Linked DNA regions of Homo sapiens: all the other regions are linked to region 3. The links are contacts of gene promoters, found by promoter capture Hi-C in human tissues and cell types (Jung and others, 2019). All regions are on one chromosome and are shown on one strand. Each heading gives the region's core, a stretch centred on a gene start or on the middle of the fragment in contact. The rest is flanking DNA. Distances are from core to core; before and after follow the strand shown. Region 1 overlaps OR1B1 (olfactory receptor family 1 subfamily B member 1). Region 2 has its middle 3.8 kb from the start of OR1N2. Region 3 holds the start of OR1K1 (olfactory receptor family 1 subfamily K member 1). Region 4 has its middle 7.3 kb from the start of OR1Q1.

Region 1 (2,700 bases), core at 39-2,538, 160 kb before region 3:
TATACACACACATATACACATATGAACCCATGTAGATACACACATGCATGCACGCATACATACACATATATACTGGCCAGGAGCAGTGGCTCACGCCTGTAATCCCAACAATTTGGGAGGCCAAGGCGGGTGGATCACCTGAGGTCAGGAGTTCAAGACCCACCTGGGCAACACGGTGAAACCCAGTCTCTACCAAAAATACAAAAAATTAGCCGAGCCTGGTGGCAGGTGCCTGTAATCCCAGCTACTTGGGAGGCTGAGGCAGGAGAAATGCTTGAACCCAGAAGGCAGAGGTTGCAGTGATCCAAGATCATGCCATTGCACTCCAGCCTGGGCAACAAGAATGAAACTCTGTCTCAAAAATAAATAAATAAATAAATAAACAAACAAACACACACATGTACATTCATCACTGACTTCCTAATACCTAACACAGAGCTGGGGAATGAGTGGGTGCTCGTTAAACATTTGTTAACCAAACAAAAAAGATTTTCTACTAAAGGGCAGTGGTCTAGAAGTTAATACAAAGGTTTCGGAGTCAGACTTACCTGGAGTTTCACTCCATATCTGCCATTTATTAACTATGTGATCTTAAGCAAGTTATGCTTTCTCATCTGTCAAATAGTGACAAAATTTCTCATAAGGTAGAGAAGATTAAAGGAGAACATATTCCGTTAAGAGAGTATTTTTGGAAGAAAATGAACTTTGCAGAGGTAAAGTAGGAAGTAACTTTTTTCACACGACTGCTTTTTGAAAAGTCTCATTTTTAGGTACTAAAATTCCAACACATTAGAATATAAAAATTTTAATTCTCAAGCAATTTAAACTGTGCTTTCTTCCCCAGCAGGGTTTATATTTTCATCCAGAAACCTGCATTAGGGAAAGAGGGATGCGACTGTCTTCATCTTTGCACCATCTTATCCATCCTTTTCTGTCTCTGGCTATTGCAGTGTTGATTTGAAGAAGGGAAACGGAAAGGTAAGGTCTCTTTGAAAGATAGAGCTGGTAGAAGTTACAAATACTGACTCTCTTCTCTTGCGGAACATCATATTGGCCCATTTGAGACCACCTATAGGTAACTATTACTGCATTCTTCCCAGATGAGACTAATTCAAACCCTGTCTGATCCCTTAGAGCCCCCTCCCTTACATTGGACATCTGACTGCACCCTTCTAAGCTTCTTCTAGGATTGCCTTACTCTAGCAAGAAATTCTCTTAGGTGGAATGATTTTCAAGATGACACAGCTCATGTACCATCCTTGGGTCCAAGGAAAGTTAGTCTAAGGAAAACTCATACATTTTTATCCCAACAAATTTGGTAAATGCAGTCTTCTCTTTCTCAATGCACTGGCAGAAGTTGCACTTGGCCCTTCCCTCAAGCTTTCTTTAAGGCCTTAAGTAATATTTTACACTGCATTCTTAGTTTGCAAACATTTTCTTAAACTATCTTTTTGTTACCAGTTTCTAATTTAATAGCATTCTGGCCAGAGAATTTAATCTCTGTGAGGTTACTTCTTTGAAGTTTTTTAAGATTCATTTTGTAGCCCAATATGTGGCTAAAAAATGGATATACAGATACAGAAATGGACAGTCCCAAAAACAAAATCACGATTTGTAGAAATTGTGGTATATAACAGTGATGGCATTCTTCAGTGATGAAGAATAGGTAATTCAGTTAAATATAGTGCTATAACTCTACATAAATATTTTAACTTGTGTTTCATTCACACTATACAGCATTTGAAATCAAAACAACATGCATGGAGTGTAAAACTCCAAGACATAATGTTAACTGGGAAAGGCCCGTTGCAAAATGATAGAAAAGTATAACAACAGATATAAAGTTGTAAAACATGCAAGAGAATTCTGTCATTTTTATAAAACATACATAGTGAAATTCTAGAAATATGCAGGAAAATAATGAATAGCTTATTTGGGATAGTAGTTTTCTTTAGGAAAAGAGGAAAGAGAAGCAGTTTGGGCTTTAATTGTATCTATAGCAGTCAATTTTTTCAAGGTAAGAACTGAAACAAAAAAGGGCAAATTTAAGTTTTGTTGAAGTTGGGTGTTTAGTATATGTAGTTCATTGTTTTGGTTCCTATGTATTTTTCTATACTGTGAAGCTTTTCCTATTAAAATATAAACAATAAAGCCAAGGGTAGCAATGGAGATATAAGACTTTTATTTTCTAGTGGTTTTTATTATTGATGCCTTCTAAGGTTAAGCATACCTTTCTAACTCAAAATAATATCCACATCACACATTCAGCACCAGGATACTCAAGCTAGTACATTATGGAGAACCCAGAATTAGGTAATATCTATCCGAGAACTAAGATAATCAGAGATTTATCTCCAAAACAATTTGCCAAGACCTTATGGAAAAAGAAAAGGTCACAATACTTGTGAATTATAATCATCAGGCCTGTGCATTGAGCCATGAAGTTCCCCTAGATGGTCTTTCCCTGACCCCAGGCAGGACCCATGTTTCCAATTATCATTTCTGGTTCTCTGTCTCACTATAGCAAGTTCTACAGTGAGCTTCTCATAGCAGCTTTTAGTTTGTGCTGATTGAAGGGATCTAGAGCAGGAGAAAAGTTTACACAGAGCTCCGGAATAGAAGGGAGAAATCTTCAGCAAGACTGAGAGATGGAAGGCTCATAACGGACTATATTTCCCCAGCCTCAGAAGCCCAAAATTT
Region 2 (2,724 bases), core at 122-2,621, 240 kb before region 3:
GATCCCCACCTTTGCCCTCCAGTCACCCAGCTACACCATGCCATTTACAGTCTATTTATATATAAAGATATCTACCTCAAGGAATTGGCTCATGCAGTTGTAGAGGGTAGCAAGTTTGAAATTTGTAGGGCAGGCTGGAAACTCAGGCAGGCATGAACATTGCAATCTTTTTTAAATATATAGACTTTACTCTTTTAGAGCTGTTTTTGGTTTATAGAAAAATTGAGCAGAAAGTTCCCATATACTTTATGCCCCAACACACGCACAATCTCCCGAACTAATCCTCACCAGAGTGGTACATTTATTACAATCCATTAGCCTCCACTGACACATCATCACCCAAAGTCTATAGTTTACATTGGAGTTCATTCTTGGTGTTGTGCATTCTGTGGGTTTTGACAAATGCTTAATAGCATGTATTCATCATTATAGTATCATACAGAATAGTTTCACTGCCCTACAAATCCTCTGTGCTTCATCTAGTTATTCCCCTCTCCCCATAACCCTGTGGTAACCACTGATCTTTTTACTGTCTCCATAGTTTTACCTTTTCCCAGAATGTTATGTAGTTGGAATCATACAGTATATTGCCTTTTCAGATTGGCTTCTTTCACTTAGAGTGTGTTTAAGATTTCTCCATGTCTTTTCATAGCTTGATAGTTCATTTCTTTCTGAGACTGAGTAATATTTCATTGTATGCAATATTCAGGGAAAGGTGTAATGTCTGTGTCTAGATTCTTTTTTTTTTTTCATGTGGATGTCTAGTTGTTTCAGCACTATTTGTTGAAGAGACTGTTTTCTCCATTGCATTGTCTTTCATCCTTTGTCAAAAATCAGTTGACTCTACTTATGTGGGTCTATTTCTGGGCTCTTTATTCTGTTATATTGATCTATTTTTCTGTTCTTTTGTCAATGCCACACTATCTTAATTACTGCAGGCTTACAGTAAGTAGTGTCCACCGGGGCCTGTTGGGGGTTAGGGGACAAGGGGAGGGAGAGCATTAGGACAAATAACTAATGCATGCGGGGCTTAAAGCCTAGATGACAGGTTGAAAGGTGCAGCAAACCACCATGGCACATGTATACCTATGTAACAAACCTACACATTCTGCACATGTATCCCAGAACTTAAATTTAAAAGAAAAAAAAAGTAAGTAGTGTCAGTCCTCCAAACTTGTTCTTCCATAATGTGTTAGCTATTCTGAGTCTTTTGCCTCTCTGCATTTTGTTGATATCCACAAAGTAACTTGCTGGGGTTTTGATTGAGGCTATGTTGAATCTATTAATCAAGTTGGGAAGAATGACACCATGATAACATTGAGTTTTCCTATACATGAACATGGAATATCTCTTCATTTATTTAGTTCTTATTTGATTTCTCCTATCAGTTCTGCAGTTTTTCTCATATTAATCTTGTATATAGATTTATATCTAACAAATTGGGGGCTGCTAGTGTAAATGGTGTTGTGTTTTTAATTTCAAATTCCATTTGTTCATTGCTGCTATGTAAGAGAGCAACTGGCTTTTGTATATTAACCCTGTATCCCGAAACCTTGCTATAATTCTTTTAGTTCCAGAAGAGATTTTTGGATATTTTGGATTTTCTGTAAAAATCATGTCATCTGAAAATAAAGACAGTTTTATTTATTCCTTCTGAATCTGTATACTTTTCATTTTCTTGTCTTATGCATTACTAGGACTTTCAGTATGATATTCAAAAGCAGTAATGAGGGGGGACATTTTTTTGCCTTGTTCCTGATCTTAGTGCAGAGCTTTTAGTTTCTCATCATTAAGTATGATATTAACTGTAGTTTTTAAAATAGATATCCTTTATCTCTCTATTCCTAGTTTTCTCAGAGTTTTTAATCATAAATGAGTGTTGGATTTTTGTGAAGTGCTTTTTCTGCATCTATTTATATTATTATGTAGTTGTTCTTTAGTCTATTGATGTGATCAACTAAATTAATTGATTTTTAAGTGTTAGAGTAGCCCTGCATTCCTGAGATAAATCCCACTTGGATATGGTGTATAATTCTTTTTGTACATTCTTGGATTCTATTTGCTAAGTACTTTATTAAGGATTTTTACATCCATATTCATGAGAGATATTGGTATGTAGTTTTCTTTTCTTGTAATTACCTTATCTACTTTTGGTATTAGAGTATTGCTGGCCTCATAGAATGAGCTAAAAGTTCTTTCTTACTCTATTTCCATCTTCTAGAAGAGATTGCAGAGAATTGGCATACATTCTTCCTTAAATGTTTGATACAATTCACCAGTGATCCCATCTAGGCCTGGTACTTTCTGTTTGGGAAAGTTATTAACTATTGAGTTAATTTCTTTAATAGAAATAGGCCTGTTAATGTTCATTTCTTCTTGTATGGGTTTTAGTGGATTGTGGCTTTCCAAGAATTGGTCCATTTCATTTAAGTTATCATGTTTGTGGGCACAGATTTGTTCATGGTATTCCTTTATTATCCTTTCAATGTTCATGGGATTTGTAGTGATTTTTTTATTCATTTCTGATATTAGTAACTTGTGTCTTCTTTCTTTTATTTTCCTTAGTTAGACTTATTAATGGTATATCAATTTTATTGATCTTTTCAAAGAACTAGCTTTTGGTTTTGTTGATTTTCTTTAATAATGTCCTATTGTCCTATTTTCAATTTCATTGATTTCTGTTTTAATTTTTATTGTTTTTTTCTTGTGCTTACTTTGGATTTA
Region 3 (2,895 bases), core at 161-2,660:
TTTTCAGGGATATGAGGAGTCATTCAGATTCTCTTGTTCTTTTTTTGTGTGTGTGTGAGATGGAGTCTCACTGTGCCACCCAGGCTGGAGTGCAGTGGCACGATCTTGGCTCACTGCAACCTCTGCCTCCTGGGTTCAAGATATTCTCCTGCCCCAGCCTCCCAAGTAGCTGGGATTACAGGCACGTGACACCACACCTGGCTAATTTTTGTATTTTTTTTTTTAGTAGAGATGGGGTTTCACCACATTGGCCAGGCTGGTCTCAAACTCCTGACCTCAGGTGATCCTCCTACCTTGGCCTCCCAAAGTGCTGGGATTACAGGCACGAGCCACTGCACCCGGCCTTGTTTTGTGTTTTAAGTCTGAAAATATCTGTATTCTTTACTCACACTTGAGTAGTATTTTTGCTGAGTGAAGAATTCCAAGTTCGAAATGCTTTTTTTCAGAATTTGAATATTGTTAAACTGTTCTATAATCTACTGTTGAATTGAAACATTTGATGGCAATCTAATTACATGGATATCATCAGTTCATTGCACCCCATGCCCTTAGGAAGTACTGGAGTCTCCTCTTCATTTCCAGTGTTCTAAAATTCCACTATTTGTGTCTAGGTGTTGTGAGTTCATATTCATTTCAATGTAAACATATGTGCTCTTCAGATTTTTTTTCTAGAGTTTCTTTCTTATGTTTCTCTCCTCCATCTTGGTTTGGTTTCATTTTTTCTTTTCCAAAATAAATGTCCATTGGCCAGATCTTTCTGTGTCGAACCTCACTCTGTTTCATCTTTTCTTTCATATTTTCCTCCTTCCCTGATCTACATCTTGTGCAATATCTTTTGTTCTATTTTTGCTTAAATCACAAACTATCAAAGTTGGACGTGACCTTGCAGATGAGTTACTTCAATTCTCTTATTTCGCAGGTTGAAAGTCTAAGGCCCCACAAGGTCAGGAGATCGAGAACATCCTGGCTAACACGGTGAAACCCCGTCTCTACTAAAAAATACAAAAAAAATTAGCCGGGCGTGATGGCGGGCGCCTGTAGTCCCAGCTACTCGGGAGGCTGAGGCAGGAGAATGGCGTGAACCCAGGAGGTGGAGCTTGCAGTGAGCTGAGATCGTGCCACTGCACTCCAGCCTGGGCGACAGAGCAAGACTCCATCTCAAAAAAAAAAAAAAAAAAAGAAAAGAAAATCTAAGGCCCAGAAAGGAAGAAGGTTCAGGGAGGTGAAATGACTTGCCCATAGTCATACCTGTGCCTAGGGCCAGGGCTACCTGACTCTAAACTCTTGATATTTTCCCATGGCCAGGAAGCCTTGAACAATTTATCCCCTCACCTTTTCCGTTAGACATCGGGGAGGTGACCCATCAATAGAAAGGAGCCCTTCAGGTTCCAGGCGAATAACCAGCCTGCCATGGAGGCTGCCAATGAGTCTTCAGAGGGAATCTCATTCGTTTTATTGGGACTGACAACAAGTCCTGGACAGCAGCGGCCTCTCTTTGTGCTGTTCTTGCTCTTGTATGTGGCCAGCCTCCTGGGTAATGGACTCATTGTGGCTGCCATCCAGGCCAGTCCAGCCCTTCATGCACCCATGTACTTCCTGCTGGCCCACCTGTCCTTTGCTGACCTCTGCTTCGCCTCCGTCACTGTGCCCAAGATGTTGGCCAACTTGTTGGCCCATGACCACTCCATCTCGCTGGCTGGCTGCCTGACCCAAATGTACTTCTTCTTTGCCCTGGGGGTAACTGATAGCTGTCTTCTGGCGGCCATGGCCTATGACTGCTACGTGGCCATCCGGCACCCCCTCCCCTATGCCACGAGGATGTCCCGGGCCATGTGCGCAGCCCTGGTGGGAATGGCATGGCTGGTGTCCCACGTCCACTCCCTCCTGTATATCCTGCTCATGGCTCGCTTGTCCTTCTGTGCTTCCCACCAAGTGCCCCACTTCTTCTGTGACCACCAGCCTCTCTTAAGGCTCTCGTGCTCTGACACCCACCACATCCAGCTGCTCATCTTCACCGAGGGCGCCGCAGTGGTGGTCACTCCCTTCCTGCTCATCCTCGCCTCCTATGGGGCCATCGCAGCTGCCGTGCTCCAGCTGCCCTCAGCCTCTGGGAGGCTCCGGGCTGTGTCCACCTGTGGCTCCCACCTGGCTGTGGTGAGCCTCTTCTATGGGACAGTCATTGCAGTCTACTTCCAGGCCACATCCCGACGCGAGGCAGAGTGGGGCCGTGTGGCCACTGTCATGTACACTGTAGTCACCCCCATGCTGAACCCCATCATCTACAGCCTCTGGAATCGCGATGTACAGGGGGCACTCCGAGCCCTTCTCATTGGGCGAAGGATCTCAGCTAGTGACTCCTGAGGGCAGGACCCCACTGAGGACAGACTGCATCACCCACACTGGCAACTGTTGAACGTGACCCTCTGTCCTCTGCTATGCTCAAAAATCATAACAGCTGTCATTTCCTGAGCACCTGCCCGGAAGCAGATCCTTGCCTGATCTCATTTTATTCCCACAGCCACCCAGGATGCAGATATTATGATCCGGTTTTACACACAAGAAAATTTGTCTTTAGGCTCAAAGATAAGAAGTGACTTTCCAGCCAGGCACAGCGGCTCACGCCTGTAATCCCAGCACTTTGAGAAGCCGAGGTGGTGGATCACCTGAGGTCGAGAGTTCAAGATCAGCCTGGCCAACATGGCGAAACCCTGTCTCTATTACAAATACCAAAATTAGCCAAGCATGGCGGCGCACAACTGTAATCCCATCTACTCGGGAGACTGAGGCAAGAGAATCACTTGAACCCAAAAGATGAAGATTGAAGTGAGCTAAGATTGTGCCACTGAGCTCCAGCCTGGGCAACAGAGCAAGACTCCATCTCAAAAAAAAAAGAAG
Region 4 (2,836 bases), core at 86-2,585, 190 kb before region 3:
CCCTGATGGTGCATTCCCTCCTTATAGAAAATATGCATGAGACTGAACTAGAGTCAGAAAATGACTTGGTGAATATTGAAAGGCAGTGTAGCACAGTGGTTTAGAACTTAAGCTTTTGACTCAGACAAACTTCACTTCAATACCTGCTGCTGTAGACTTCAGCAATTGCATCGCCACCCTGAACTTCAGTTTCTACATTTTTAAATAAAGATATTCACAGTGCTGGTGCACAGGGCTATCACTTAAGTGAATTCAGAACCTGGCAATGGCTAGTGCTCAGCCAGTATTAGCTATGATTATTACTCCAACTTTTTTCATAGTGTCAGAACAAGGGCTGTGGATTGGATAAACTTAATGTCCAGTATTATCTATTTAAGAGATCCTGGTATATCCTCACTATGGCTTCTGTGGGAAAAAAGGAATTTCAAGTCCCAAATCAAGGTATTCTTTGAGCGGCACTAGAGACAAATTAAGGTGTGGCTTTGGGGGCAAATGAAGGATTTGACACCTTCTATTTAGATGTAAAATATATAAATCTCATAAATAAATATAATAAGGCAAGGAAGGGTTCAGGAGCTGGAATAGACCATCTAAAGTTTAGGTTTTTAAATCCAAGGGGCCAGGAGAAGCCAAACTGACTGGAGAAGCACCTGTGAGTGAGGAGCACCTCTGAGTGAGGAGCATCTGTGAGGAGCACCTGTGAGGACCACCTATCCTATGTGGAGCACCTGTGAGTGAGGAGCACCTATCCTATGAGTGAGGAGCACCTATCCTATGAGTGAGAAGCACCTCTGAGTAAGGATCATCTGTGAGTGAGGAGCACCTATGAGTGAGGAGCATCTATGAGTGAGGAGCACCTGCAAGAAGCACCTGTGAGTGAGGAGCACCTATCTTATGAGTGAGGAGTACCTGCGAGTGAGGTATATCAGAGGTGTTAGGGAAAGCATGTGTCATTCCCAGGCATGCTTGGGGATACTGGAGCAGAATTCAATGCATTTCCTGTAGCTTTTCTTAGGGAAAGCCAAAATATTACTCTAAGTAAAGTGACTATGATGAAAAAGTCTTGCTCCATAACTTCAATTTTTTTTCTTTGCACAAAGTCAAATGATTTGATTTTTGTTCTACTTACTTGCCAGAGCTGCTTTTTAGAGATGACACCCTGGTTAACTTGTCAGAATTCTGGGTCTCTCAAAATCTCCATATTGGCTTCTGGACCACCATTTAAATTAGTTCAACCCATCACATCCATCACACTTAAAAATAATCTTTTACTTTCAAAAATAACACATGCTAGTAAAAGAAATGGTGTGTGTCATACAGAAGTTGACACCCACCATTCTTCCCCCCACACTCACTCCCTAGAAGCAAACATTATCCATCTTTTGAGTGTGTTCTTCTAGATTGTGTTCTTATTCATACACAAATATTTCTGTTTCATTTTTACTTAACTGTAACTATGCGTATACACACTGTTCTGGTATTTTACATTTTTTACTTAATTATATTATTACTAAGAGAAAAGTACTTGTGTAAACAGATAGGACATGTACAATCCAAGGCACACTTTTACTGGTGGCTGATATGTATCATATGGACAGCTGAAATAGTTCAAAGGAGCCTTAGATATCTTATCAAATACTGACACCAATCGATAACTTGACAAATGGTCTGACCCAAACTTTTTAACATGCACAATAATAAATCCAAGCTTTCTCAAAACAGAATTATTTAACCACAGAATTTTTTCAAACAGGAGTTTGAAGTACTTTTAACACAGCATTATTTTACTCTTTTGCTACTTATAACAAAATGTATTTCACACAGAATTTGAGACATGGACAGAAGAAACCAGACCTGCATCTATGAATTTCTTCTCATGGGCTTCTCTGAACACCAGGAGCAGCAGGCTCTTTTGTTTGGGCTTTTCCTGGTCATGTACTTGGTCACTGTGTTGGAGAACCTGCTAATCATCCTGGCCATTGGCTCTGACCTGCACCTCCACACCCCCCATGTACCTCTTCCTGTCCAACCTGTCCTTTTTGGATATTGGCTTTATCTCTACAATAATTCCCAATATGCTAGATCATATTAGCTCAGGAATTAAGCTGATTTCTTATGGGGAGTGTCTGACACAACTCTATTTCTCTGGCCTATTTGCAGATCTGGACAACAACTTTCTCCTGGCTGTGATGGCCCTTGACCGCTATGTGGCCATCAGCCATCCTCTCCATTATGCCCTAACCATGAACTCCCAACGCTGTGTCCTGTTGGTGGCTGTGTCATGGGTGATCACTATTTTACATGCCCTAGTGCATACCCTCCTAGTGACCAGGCTTTCCTTCTGTGGTCCAAATATTATCCCTCACTTCTTCTGTGATCTGGTCCCACTCCTGAAGCTGGCCTGCTCCAGTACTTGTGTCAATGATCTGGTGCTCATCCTTGTGGCAGGAACACTGCTGATTGCGCCCTTTGTCTGCATCCTTATGTCCTACTTTTACATTGCATTGGCCATCCTGAGAATTGATTCCCCAAGGGGTAAGCAAAGGGCCTTCTCCAGCTGCACTTCCCACCTCTCTGTAGTCTCTCTGTTCTATAGCACAGCTATCGGTGTCTATTTATGTCCTCCATCATCCCACTCAGATGGAAAGGACAGAGTCTTCTCAGTCATGTACACGGTGGTGACTCCCATGTTGAACCCCTTCATCTACAGCCTGAGGAACAGGGATATGAAGGGGGCACTGGGAAAACTGCTTGGAATAAAAACATCCTAACACCCTTACTCAAGACCTTAGGATCCTGACCCCAAGACTCAGAGCTGGGAGTGGATCAGTCTCCT

Evidence for each region. The method cuts DNA at HindIII sites, captures the fragments that hold promoters and counts their contacts. A contact is called where the count stands out against the background at its distance.
Region 1: a contact is called between a fragment that was not itself captured here and the fragment with the promoter of OR1K1 in region 3, in 3 of the 25 tissues and cell types used here (H1 embryonic stem cells, IMR-90 fibroblasts and aorta).
Region 2: a fragment that was not itself captured here is called in contact with the fragment with the promoter of OR1K1 in region 3 in 4 of the 25 tissues and cell types used here (H1 embryonic stem cells, IMR-90 fibroblasts, mesendoderm cells and 1 more).
Region 4: a fragment that was not itself captured here is called in contact with the fragment with the promoter of OR1K1 in region 3 in 2 of the 25 tissues and cell types used here (mesendoderm cells and stomach).

What each region holds. Positions count from the first base shown.
Region 1 is chr9:122,636,259-122,638,958 of GRCh38, forward strand. The region is part of intron 1 of OR1B1 (olfactory receptor family 1 subfamily B member 1); the gene reads right to left. LOC124902265 (a long non-coding RNA gene) reads left to right here. Exons shown (of 3, transcript XR_007061759.1): 2 at 845-978. Among named protein-coding and RNA genes, the nearest start is that of OR1B1, 20 kb to the right of the region's middle. The HindIII fragment of the contact is 3,189 bases long and covers 1-2,700 here.
Region 2 is chr9:122,555,545-122,558,268 of GRCh38, forward strand. It overlaps a transcript of OR1J2 not described here and a transcript of OR1L8 not described here. Among named protein-coding and RNA genes, the nearest start is that of OR1N2, 3.8 kb to the left of the region's middle. The HindIII fragment of the contact is 5,041 bases long and covers 1-2,724 here.
Region 3 is chr9:122,798,713-122,801,607 of GRCh38, forward strand. OR1K1 (olfactory receptor family 1 subfamily K member 1) reads left to right here and starts at 1,411. Exons shown (of 1, transcript NM_080859.1): 1 at 1,411-2,361. The coding sequence starts at 1,411. The coding sequence ends at 2,361. The HindIII fragment of the contact is 19,122 bases long and covers 1-2,895 here.
Region 4 is chr9:122,606,030-122,608,865 of GRCh38, forward strand. It overlaps the pseudogene OR1H1P. Among named protein-coding and RNA genes, the nearest start is that of OR1Q1, 7.3 kb to the right of the region's middle. The HindIII fragment of the contact is 3,849 bases long and covers 1-2,836 here.